3 separate regions of the Homo sapiens genome follow, and all the other regions are linked to region 3. The links are contacts of gene promoters, found by promoter capture Hi-C in human tissues and cell types (Jung and others, 2019). All regions are on one chromosome and are shown on one strand. Each heading gives the region's core, a stretch centred on a gene start or on the middle of the fragment in contact. The rest is flanking DNA. Distances are from core to core; before and after follow the strand shown. Region 1 overlaps SPPL3 (signal peptide peptidase like 3). Region 2 has its middle 30 kb from the start of XLOC_009911. Region 3 holds the start of POP5 (POP5 ribonuclease P/MRP subunit).

Region 1 (3,459 bases), core at 775-3,274, 280 kb after region 3:
ATACACACGCACAAAAGTTTGTTCGTGACAAATTGGAGGGAGAGAGGAAGGAGAAATTAGTCTGGTACTTTGCTAGAAATAGTAAGAGAAGTAGAAGGCGGCAAACTTTTTATGTAAAAGAGTAAATATTTTAGGCACTGTAAGTAATATGGTCTCTGTGACAACTACAGTCCTCCCTATCTTTGGGGGACTGGTTCCAGGACAACCCCCTACTCCCCTTCTAGATACTAAAATCCTTGGATGCTCCAGTCCCTTATAAAACAGTGTAGTATTTACATACAACCTACACACATCCACCTGTATACTTTTTTCCTCCTCCCATTTCAGGGCTCCACAGGACTCTCATATACTTTAAATCATCGCTATATTACTTACAATACATAGTACAATGAAAACGCTATATAAATACCTGTTTTACCATATTGTTTTCATTTGTATTACTTTTGTTTTTTCTCCCTCAAATATTTTTTATCTGAGGTTGACTAAATCATGAATGTGGAACCCACAGAGACAGGGCCAACTGTTCTCAAATCAACTCTGCCATTCTAGCATGAAAGCAGCCATAGATGATATGTAAACAAATGGGCATGGCTGTGTTACAATAAAGCTTTATTTACAAAAACAGGTTGTAGGTCAGATTTGGCTTGCAGGCCATAGTTTGCTTATTCTTAAATGAGAACATGCTAGAAAAACAGAAAAAGGAAGGAGACAAAGTACAAAAATTCTCCAAAAGGACAGATCCTTGAAAAGGGTGTTGGCAATAAATAACAGGAAGGGAAAAAGAGTAAGATTTTTTTTTATCAGTGTGGTCTATATTTCATCTAGCTACTCCAGCAGCCACATTTCTGGTCATATTTTAAACAGGCTGTGGTAGATCCTTGCATTACTACTGTCAACTACAATGCCCTGAAGACATACCACACAGGTCAGATGTCTTCATTGAAACGCATCCTAGCAGCGGACTGAGTCCTGGTTTATCTGGCAGGGGAGTACGCTGACTGATATTACTCAGTATACAATCACCTCTCTGGCAGATTTAAAAATCATATGCCTGAAATTGTAACATATAAAAACCAATCCAATCTTCTAACAGGTTATCTTATTCCTTGTTACTTGTATTATGAAATGATTTCTGATACCCAAGATTTCTGAGATACCAAAAGGAGAGAACAGAAGGGCTGTGAGGGAGTTAGGGGTAAGAGAGGGACTGGGAACTCAAAGGATTGGGAATATCACTTTGGGCTGTAGTGCTCAACATCTTCATGTCTTCAATTCTAGAATTTTGAGCAACATACTTGAAGGTATTAAGATTCCAAAACAATAGTAAATAAGTGAACATGAATTACAATGTAGGCAGTACTACAGAAAATAATGTCCACAGTGTCCAGAGAAGTAGTTTTCAAACTTTTTAGTTCAGGACTCTTGTTGAGGACCCCAAAGGGCATTTGTTTATATAGATTATACTTCCTGATATTTACCATATTAGACATTGAAACTGTGAATATGAAAAATATTTATTCATTTTAAAATAAACTCATTATACATTAACATAAATTACACATATTTCTATGATCTGTTTCTACTCTTAACACTTCTGACACCAAATGTGTGGGTTTTTTCCATGTCAATAACCAATTTTCCAATAATAATTAGATGTTCATCAATTCAATTCTGACACTATTACCCAAAGGTGTCACAGGCCCTGCATGTTAAGGGCTAGGTCTCATGAGATTGCCTCTATTTCAGGTGCCGGTATCAAGTCCAGGTCACCCGTACTTCTGACTCATCAGCTACAAAGTTAGGGGTTTCCACAATCCCTTTCTCAGGTTTGACCATTTGCTAGGATGGCTCACTGAACTCAGGAAAACAATTTACTTACTATTGTTGGTTTATTATAAAGGATACAACTCAGGAGCAGAAAAATAAAAGACATGCACAGGGCAAGGAATGGAGGGCTGAGAGGAGTATGCAAAGTTTCCATGCCTTCGGTGGGTGCACTGTCCTCCCAGCACCAGTTCACAAGTCCAGAAGCTCTCAGAACTCAATTTTTAAGGATTTTTTGGAGGTTCCATTACACAGGCATGATTGATTAAATCACTGGCCTTTCCTGGCTGGGCTCAATCTCCAACCCCTCTCCCCTCTGCAGAGGTTGAGGGAAGGGGTTATATTTCCAACCCTCTATTGGTTCTTCTAGCAACCAGTCATCATCCAGAAGCTATTTAGGAGCCCACTAAGACTCAGCTCATTAGCATAAACTCAGGTAGGGTTGAAAGGGACTTCTCATGAATAACAAAAGATGCTCCTCTCTCCTCTATCACGAAATTCTAAGGGCTTTATTATAAAAGCTATTATGCCAGGAACCTGGGATAAAGACCAAATATATATTTATCACAACATCTAGGCCAGGCATGGTGGCACACACCTGTAATCCCAGCACTCTGGGAGGCTGAGGTGGGTGGATCACCTGAGGTCAGGAGTTTGAGACCAGCCTGGCCAACATGGTGAAACCCTATCTTTACTAAAAATACAAAAATTAGCTGGGTGTGGTGGTGCATGCCTATAATCCCGGCTACTCCAGAGGCTAAGCCAGAAGAATCACTTGAACCCAGGAGGCAGAGGTTGCAGTGAGCTGAGATCACACCACTGCACCCCAGCCTGGGTGACAGAGCGAGACTCCATCTCAAAAGAAAAAAAAAAAAAGTTTTAATGAAAAATAACTCTTTTGAAAGTAAAAATTAGTGAGAGGAATGGTACCGTTTTACATTTCTGCAAATATCTTTAATGTCTGGCTTAATCGAAGTCAGCAGTATTCTCGTATCTGCTTCGGCATTTAATCTGTACTATGATATATAGTTTGGTTCAAGTACATGAAGAAAATTCAACTGCATGCATATCTATAGTTTAAAATGTGAGTGGTATTTTAAGAGCCTTTCAGGTAATCGTAGATATTATTCTTCAATACTGAAATGAAATTCTACAGATGGTAGGTTTTTTAATTCTTTTTGAAATGTATTCTCGTTTTATTGCTCAGGCTGGAGTGATCACAGCTGACTGTAGCCTCGAACTCCTGGGCTGAAGCTATCCTCCTGCCTCAACCTCCCAAGTAGCTAGGCCCACAGGGTCAAGTCACCACATTTAGCTTTTTTTTTTTTTTTTCTTGTAGCTTTCTTTTTCTTTTCTTTTCTTTTTTTCTTGCAGAGATGGAGCCTTGCTTGCTGCCCAGGCTGGTTTTGAAATCCTGGCCTCCAGCAATCCTCCCACCTTGGCCTCCCAAGGTGCTGAGATCCCGGGCATGAGCTACCACACCCAGCCTAGATGGTAGTTTCCTAAAGGTTAGCTCCAATGTAAAATCTAAAACCCTATCAATGAACTTTCTGTACTCTGTTACATTAAAATCCATGTCTGCCTTCACTCTGAATGGATCCTTACCCATGCATAATTCTGTACATCATGCACTGG
Region 2 (3,564 bases), core at 255-2,754, 350 kb after region 3:
CAGGTTCCAATAATGTGCTGAGAATGCAGGAAAGGCAGCTCAGGGCTTTATAGACTCGCTGCCCCCAGTCCATCCAGAGGCCCAGAGAGGCCAAGCTACTCACCCAAGGACACACAGGCCTTGAAATCTGATACTTTCTGAATCCCAGCACTGCATGGCCTTTGCGTTCTGTGAGTGGCTCACACTGGGGAGCTGGTGACACCCTGACATGGGCTCCATACTTGCTGCTCCTTCTGCTTTTCTTCCAGTGGCACACTTGAGGGATGCAGGGACTCACATAGGACCAATTCCTGCCCCACTGTGTCCCCTAAGTAACCCACATCCAAAATATATCCCGAATTCAGCCATTTTCCTTCTTAGGTCAATTCATTCCTTCTCTCTCTCTCTTTCTCTCTCTCTCCTCTGTCAGAGAGACAGGGTCTTGCTCTGTCACCCAGGCTGGAGTGCAGTGATGTGGTACAATCATAGCTCACTGCAGCCTTGAATTTCTGAGCTCAAGCAATCCTCTTGCCTCAGCCTCCCAACTAGTTGAACTACAGGCATGTGCCACTGCATCCAGCCAAGTTTTTTTTGTTTTTGTTTTTAGTAGAGACAAAGTCTCGTCATGTTGCCCAGGCTGGTCTCAAACCCCTGGGGTCAAGCAATCCTCCTGCCTTGGCCTCCCAAAGTGCTGGGATTACAGGCTTGAGCCATGGCGCTGCCACCGCCTACTCCTCCTCCTCCTCCTCCTCTTCCTCTTCTTCTTCCTCTTCTTTTTTTTTTTTTTTGAGTTGTACAAGAAAATGAGAGGCCAAAGGCCCGTGATTTACAGGCAGCCTGGTGGAGGAGAAGTGGTGTGTAGTGCTGTTACATGGTCTCTAGGGCCATATACTCCGGTTTGAGTTTCTAGTTCTTTGACTATATGACTGTGGCTAAGCAATGAAGCTTTCTAGACCTGCGTTCTCATTCATTAAATAGGAATGATAACACCTCATAAGTATCTAAATGAGATACTGTAGGTAAGTGTACATCATAGAATTTTAAATCTGGTAAGTGTGTGGTAGGCTGAATAATAACCCCTAAAAGATGTCCAGGTCCTGCCGGGAGCAGGCTCACACCTGTAATCCCAGCACTTTGGGAAGCCAAGGTGGCGGGATCACCTGAGGTTGGGAGTTCAAGACCAGCCTGACCAACATGGAGAAACCCCCTCTCTACTAAAAATACAAAATCAGCTGGCCGTGGTGGCACATGCCTGTAATCCCAGCTACTCAGGAAGCTGAGGCAGGAGAATTTCTTGAACCCGTGAGGTGGAGGTTGCGTTGAGCCAAGATCGCGCCATTGCACTCCAGCCTGCGCAACAAGAGCAAAACTCTGTCTCAAAAAAAAAAAAAAGATGTCCATGTCCTAATCTCTAGAACTCTAGAACCTATGATTATAGGAAAGGAGACTTTGTAGATGCATCAAATTAATATTTTTGAGATGAGGAGATTATCCTGGATTATCTAGCCCAATATAATCACACAGGTCCTTGGAAGAGGTGGGCACACCAGAGTGAGCGGTAGCAGATTTGACGATGGAAACAAGAGGTTGTAGTGATCGATGAAGGGAATGTGAGCCAAGGAATGCAGGTGGTCCTCTAGAAGATGAAAAAGGCAAGGACACATTCTTCCCTCAGAGCCCTCACAGGGAACTAGCCCTATAAAACCGATGTCAGATTCATGACCTCCGCAACTATGAGAATAAGCTTGTGTAAAGTCAATATTTGTGGTAATTTCTACAGCAGCAGTAGGAAACTAATATAGGATGTTACTCACATTTATTCATTTGTTTACTTATTTATGAGACAAAGTCTCGCTCTGTTCAGGCTGGAGTGCGGTGGTGTGATCTCGGCTCACTGCAACCTCCGCTTCTCAGGTTCAAGTGATTCTTCTGCCTCAGCCTCCCAAGTAGCTGGGATTACAAGTGTGCACCACTACAGCTGGCTCATTTTTATATTTTTAGTAGAGATGGGGTTTCACTATGTTGGCCAGGCTGGTCTTGAACTCTTGGTCTCAAGTGATCTGCCTGCCTCAGCCTCCCAAAGTGCCAGGATTACAGGCATGAGCCACCGTGCCCAGCCTCTTCTTCTTTTCTTCTTCCTTCTCCTCCTCCTTTTTTGATTGAGATATAGTTCACAAACTATAAAATTCACCCTTTTAAAGTGTGCAATTCAGTGGTTTTTAGTGTAGCTATCAACTTGCCCAACCACTTTCATAATCTACTTCCAAACCATTTTTATCTTCCCCAAAGAAACCCCACACCCATTCACCGTCATTCCCCATTCTCTCACCACCCCCAACCTCAAGCCCTTGTCAACATCTAATCTAATTTCTATCTCTATGGAGATGCCTATTCTGGACATTGCATATAAATGGAATCATACGATTTACAGTCTTCTGTGTCTGGCTTCTTTCACTCTGCAGAATGTTTTCAAGGTTCATCCATGTTGCAGTGTGTCAGTACTGCATTCCTCTTTTTTTTTTTTTTTTTTTTTTTTTTTTTTGAGACAGACTCTTGCTCTGTTGCCCAGGCTGGAGTGCAGTGGCACGATCTCAGCTCACTGCAACCTCCGCCTCCTAGGCTTAAGCAATTCTCATGCTTCAGCCTCCCGAGTAGCTGGGATTACAGGCCTGTGCCACCACACCCGGCTAATGTTTGTATTTTTAGTAGAGATGAGATTTTACCAGGTTGGCCAGGCTGATCTTGAACTCCTGGCCTCAAGTGATCCACCCACATTGGCCTCCCAAAGTGCTGGGATTACAGGCATGAGCCACTGTGCCCAGCTGCATTGCTTGTTATGGTCAGAATGATTCTATTGTACAGATAGGCCACATTCTGTTCCCTCGGTGGATGGACATTTGGGTTGTTTCCACTTTTGAACTACTATAAAGCTGCTATGAGCTTTCATATATAAGTTTTTGTGTGAACATGGTTACTGCTTGCCTGGATGAGACCGTTAACCTCCTCACTGGACTCTCAGCCTCTGCCCTTAACCCACACAGGGTCCATCCTCCTCACAGCAGCCAGAGGAGTCCTTTGAAAGTCAGGTCATGTCATTCCTGTGTTCTAAACCACCAGTGGCTCCCCAGTGCCCTGAGGATAAAGTTGAAGACCCAGCACAATCTCCACCCCAGCTCCAGCCCCACTTCTTCTTCACTGGCTGGCTCTCAGTTCCTCAAATGAGCAATCCTCCTTCCTGCCTCCCTCCCTCTGCAAGTGCCGGCCTTCTGCTTGGAATGCTTCTCCGGCTCCTTATTCCCTTCTGCCTTTAACTCCTCTTCATCCTTCAGGTCTCCAGGGAAAATCAGGGTTCAGGGAGGCCTTCTTTCTCTCTCTCTCTCTCTCTCTTTTTTTTTTTTTTTTGAGACAGCATCTCACTCTGTCGCCCAGGCTGGAGTGCAGTGGAGCGATCTCGGCTCACTGCAGCCTCAACCTCTGCGTCTCAGCCTCCTGAGTAGCTGGGATCACAGGCACGCACCACCAGGCTGGTGAATTATTTATTTATTTTTTGTGACAGAGTTTCGCGCTTGTTGCCCAGGCTGGAGT
Region 3 (3,354 bases), core at 648-3,147:
GTTGCTTACCTTCATCAGTGCAGTTCTGCAACAAGATCAACAGCTGTCTCCTGTTGTACTGAATTAGGAACTTCTGACATGTTCTTATTGTACCTGGCATATGAGTTACTGTGGTCAACAGCTTGTGAAAGATCTCGACCTTACAGACTTTCAGAGGTAGGGGGAAGTGTCTTGTTAGCGGGACAGCAGCAAGACCCACCCACCAGTTTAGACTGAACTGTGAACGTGTCACCAATTGAAAATCAGTAGCCATACCACCTCACTCCTACCTCCCACATGTAATGTGTTGAAAAAGCATGGGTAACGGTGTCCTTTGTTCTCCAAGTATGTGATGAAGGGAAGAGCTGACCACACAAGCTGATAGAATTCTTTTCTGCATCGAAGTAGCACTATTCCAGTATAGGCATTGAGATATCGAACTACAACAGGAAAGAAAAATCATTTTGGAAAACTTTTGCTCTGTGTGGTGGCTCACGCCTGTAATCCCAGCACTTTGGGAGGCTGAGGCGGGCAGATCACTTTAAGTCAGGAGTTCGAGGCCAGCCTGGCCAACATGATGAAACCCCGTCTCTACTAAAAATACAAAAATTAGCTGGGTGTGGTGGTGCGCACCTGTAATTCCAGCCACTCAGGAGGCTGAGGCATGAGAATCGCCTGAACCCAGGAGGCAGAGGCAGCAATGACCCCCGATCTCGCTGCTGCACTCCAGCAGCCTGGGCAACAGCCAGACTGTCTCGAAAAAAGGAAAACTTTGGAGTAACAGAGCCTACTATGTGCCAAAAGTATGTTGTAGGCAAGTGGCACGTAGATCTATCAGCGAGTAAAAGAGAAAAGCCAAAACACCCACTGTGTTGCACACCACTCAGAACTGGTGAATGAATTTAGAATTGAAAATGCTTTCTAATTCACTAGTTAATTCAATAAATAGGAGCAGGTAGGAGGCGATCCGTTTTAATTTAGGAAAAACCCCCACAAAACCCTTGCCTGAAAAACAGGCTGTTTTACTGCATTTGGGCTCCGTAATTATTGTAGCAGTCAGCTCTCAGTCTCACCTGACTTAGGAGAGTTAAGTCTATCTGCATTTAACTCTCCAGAAGTCAATCTCAAACAAGGTTAAAGTGGGAACTAATTTAAGTGGTGTGAAAGAAGGGCCCCTCTGTCCTAGCTCATCCTGTATTTACATATATTGACAATCATGTGTTCTGTACTTTACCAACTATTTAAGGGCTTTCCCGGAGTACTTTTGACAATTTTTTTCCATATGATGTTAATGTAATCGGTCATATAATAGCTCTTACTAGGAAGTATACACAGCTTCCCTCATTTAATTCTCTACCCTATCAAATTCAATCACAACCAATTACAGAAATTACCTGTCAAGCAGGTAAAAAGAGGCTTCTAGCTCAAAGCCCCACTGCCTTCGGGCCCCTCCTTTTAGCGCTCTGCTAATTTCGGACTCTCGCTTGGGGTCCCAGGCGCTTAAAGAGATACCTTACAAAAAACGGTGCACGGGCTTGGCCACTCGTGCCCCTTCTTTCTTCCTCCGGCGCCTGCCCCCTCCACATCCCGCCATCCTCCCGGGTTCCCCTCTTCCCCCAGCGCCCTTGCACCCGCGAAGCCGATGGAGCAGGCGGCTGCGCCGAAAGTTCCGTGCACCCTGGCGATCGTGTCCCGTACGAGGCTGCTCAGAACTCGGTCATCGAGGCTTAGGCGGCAGCGGGGGTCGTCAGACACCAGTTCGCAGAGCAGGTACCTGCGGCAGGCGAGAGGAAGGTGGACACTAGCGGGGCCGCGAGGACCCAGCAAGGCACTGGGAGGGTCTGGAAGGGAATGCTTACCTGTGCTTGAACCGCACCATGGCTGCCTCCGCGCTCTCCGGTCCGGCGTGCAAACCGGATGTGAATTCTGTCCGCTGCCAATGGGAAGCTTGCTTCCGCAGCCTTTCAGCCATTCAGAGAAGGAGACAGGATATTAGGGCGGAGCTAGAAAGTTGAGAGGCCGAAGTCTGTCAGCTCTCTCAAGCCCCGCCCAACTGCGTTTGTAAGCGCGCATGCGTCCTGCGGAGGGTCACTGACTAGTTTGAGGGCTGAACCCCGGGATGGAGCGCCTTGCAGCTGTAATGGATGGTTCTGTTGCACACTGAAGTTTACAATAGTGTGTAGGATGTAGCCGCTACCCTTGGGGCCCTGGGAACCTTGCACCACAGTTATGTATGCGAGTATATTCTCTCCCCAAGGTGAACGGTGGAGCTTTTGAGGGCAAGACCCTGCACCTCACAGCCCAGGCATTGACAAACGGGAAATCGGACTTTTATTTTCAGGTTTGAGCTCAGTTTAATTCTTCCATACAGCTAAATATGCTATTGCTGTTTGGGCCTTTCAGCAATCTTAGGGAGGCGAGTGTGCCGTCTCGTTTTTTGCTCGCAGAAACAATACGTGGTCATTGTATTTTCCATTTCCGTTTACCTTTTTTTTTTGACAGAAAAGCACAAAGAAGCAAATAAATTATAATCCCAGCACTGAGAGAGAATAACTGTTGTCGTGTAGTGTGTTTTCTTCTGTCATTTTCTCCCTGCGCCAGTGGTTCTCAAAGTGCCGTCTGGGGACCACTGAGATTTCCTAAATTCACTCGATTTGGGAGTCCCCGAAGTCAAAATTACTTTCATAATAATGCTAAGATGTTACTTGTCTTTTTCATTCTCTCTGAGTGAACAGTCAAGTTTTCCAGAGGCTGCTTGACGTGATGACGTCACTGCTCTAGGAATTGTGTATTGTTTTTTAAACGTTTCTCAACTTTAATGTCCATAGTAAATATAACCCACAAAACTAAAAGCTCTTGGGCACCCTCAGTAACGTGTGTAAAGGGGTCCTGAGACAGAGAAAACAGCTTGAGAACTATGCCCTCTGTTAAATTATGTTTTTTCTTTTATTTTTAAGTATTTTAAAAAAAATGTCTTATGGGGTATTACATAAAGTACATATTCTTAAGTGTATTCATCTCAATGAATTTTTACATATGGATAGACTTCTATAACCACCTCCAAGATTAAAATAAAGAGCATTTCCAGTATCCCAGAAGGTTCCCTGAGCCCTCTTCCAGTCAAATTGCTTACTGCTATCAGCCACTATTACCACTTCTACCCTGCTAGATTAATTTTGCCTGTTCTTAAACTTTATATAAATGCAGCCAGGAGGCTGGCTGCAACCTCTGCCTCCTGAGTTCAAGCGATTCTCCTGCCTCAGCCTCCCGAGTAGCTGGGATTACAGGCACCTGCCACCACGACCAGCTAATTTTTGTATTTATTTATTTAGTTTTTTGAGACGGAGTCTCACTCTGTTGCCCAAGCTGGAGCAC

What was found. The method cuts DNA at HindIII sites, captures the fragments that hold promoters and counts their contacts. A contact is called where the count stands out against the background at its distance.
Region 1: a contact is called between a fragment that was not itself captured here and the fragment with the promoter of POP5 in region 3, in 1 of the 25 tissues and cell types used here (neural progenitor cells).
Region 2: a contact is called between a fragment that was not itself captured here and the fragment with the promoter of POP5 in region 3, in 2 of the 25 tissues and cell types used here (mesenchymal stem cells and pancreas).

Annotation. Positions count from the first base shown.
Region 1 is chr12:120,860,666-120,864,124 of GRCh38, forward strand. The region is part of intron 1 of SPPL3 (signal peptide peptidase like 3); the gene reads right to left. Among named protein-coding and RNA genes, the nearest start is that of SPPL3, 42 kb to the right of the region's middle. The HindIII fragment of the contact is 8,740 bases long and covers 1-3,459 here.
Region 2 is chr12:120,933,223-120,936,786 of GRCh38, forward strand. No RefSeq gene overlaps it. Among named protein-coding and RNA genes, the nearest start is that of XLOC_009911, 30 kb to the left of the region's middle. The HindIII fragment of the contact is 5,842 bases long and covers 1-3,564 here.
Region 3 is chr12:120,579,505-120,582,858 of GRCh38, forward strand. It overlaps POP5 (POP5 ribonuclease P/MRP subunit), which reads right to left and starts at 1,898. Exons shown (of 5, transcript NM_015918.4): 1 at 1,839-1,898; 2 at 1,611-1,753; 3 at 270-419; 4 at 10-93. The coding sequence starts at 1,858. The HindIII fragment of the contact is 9,700 bases long and covers 1-3,354 here.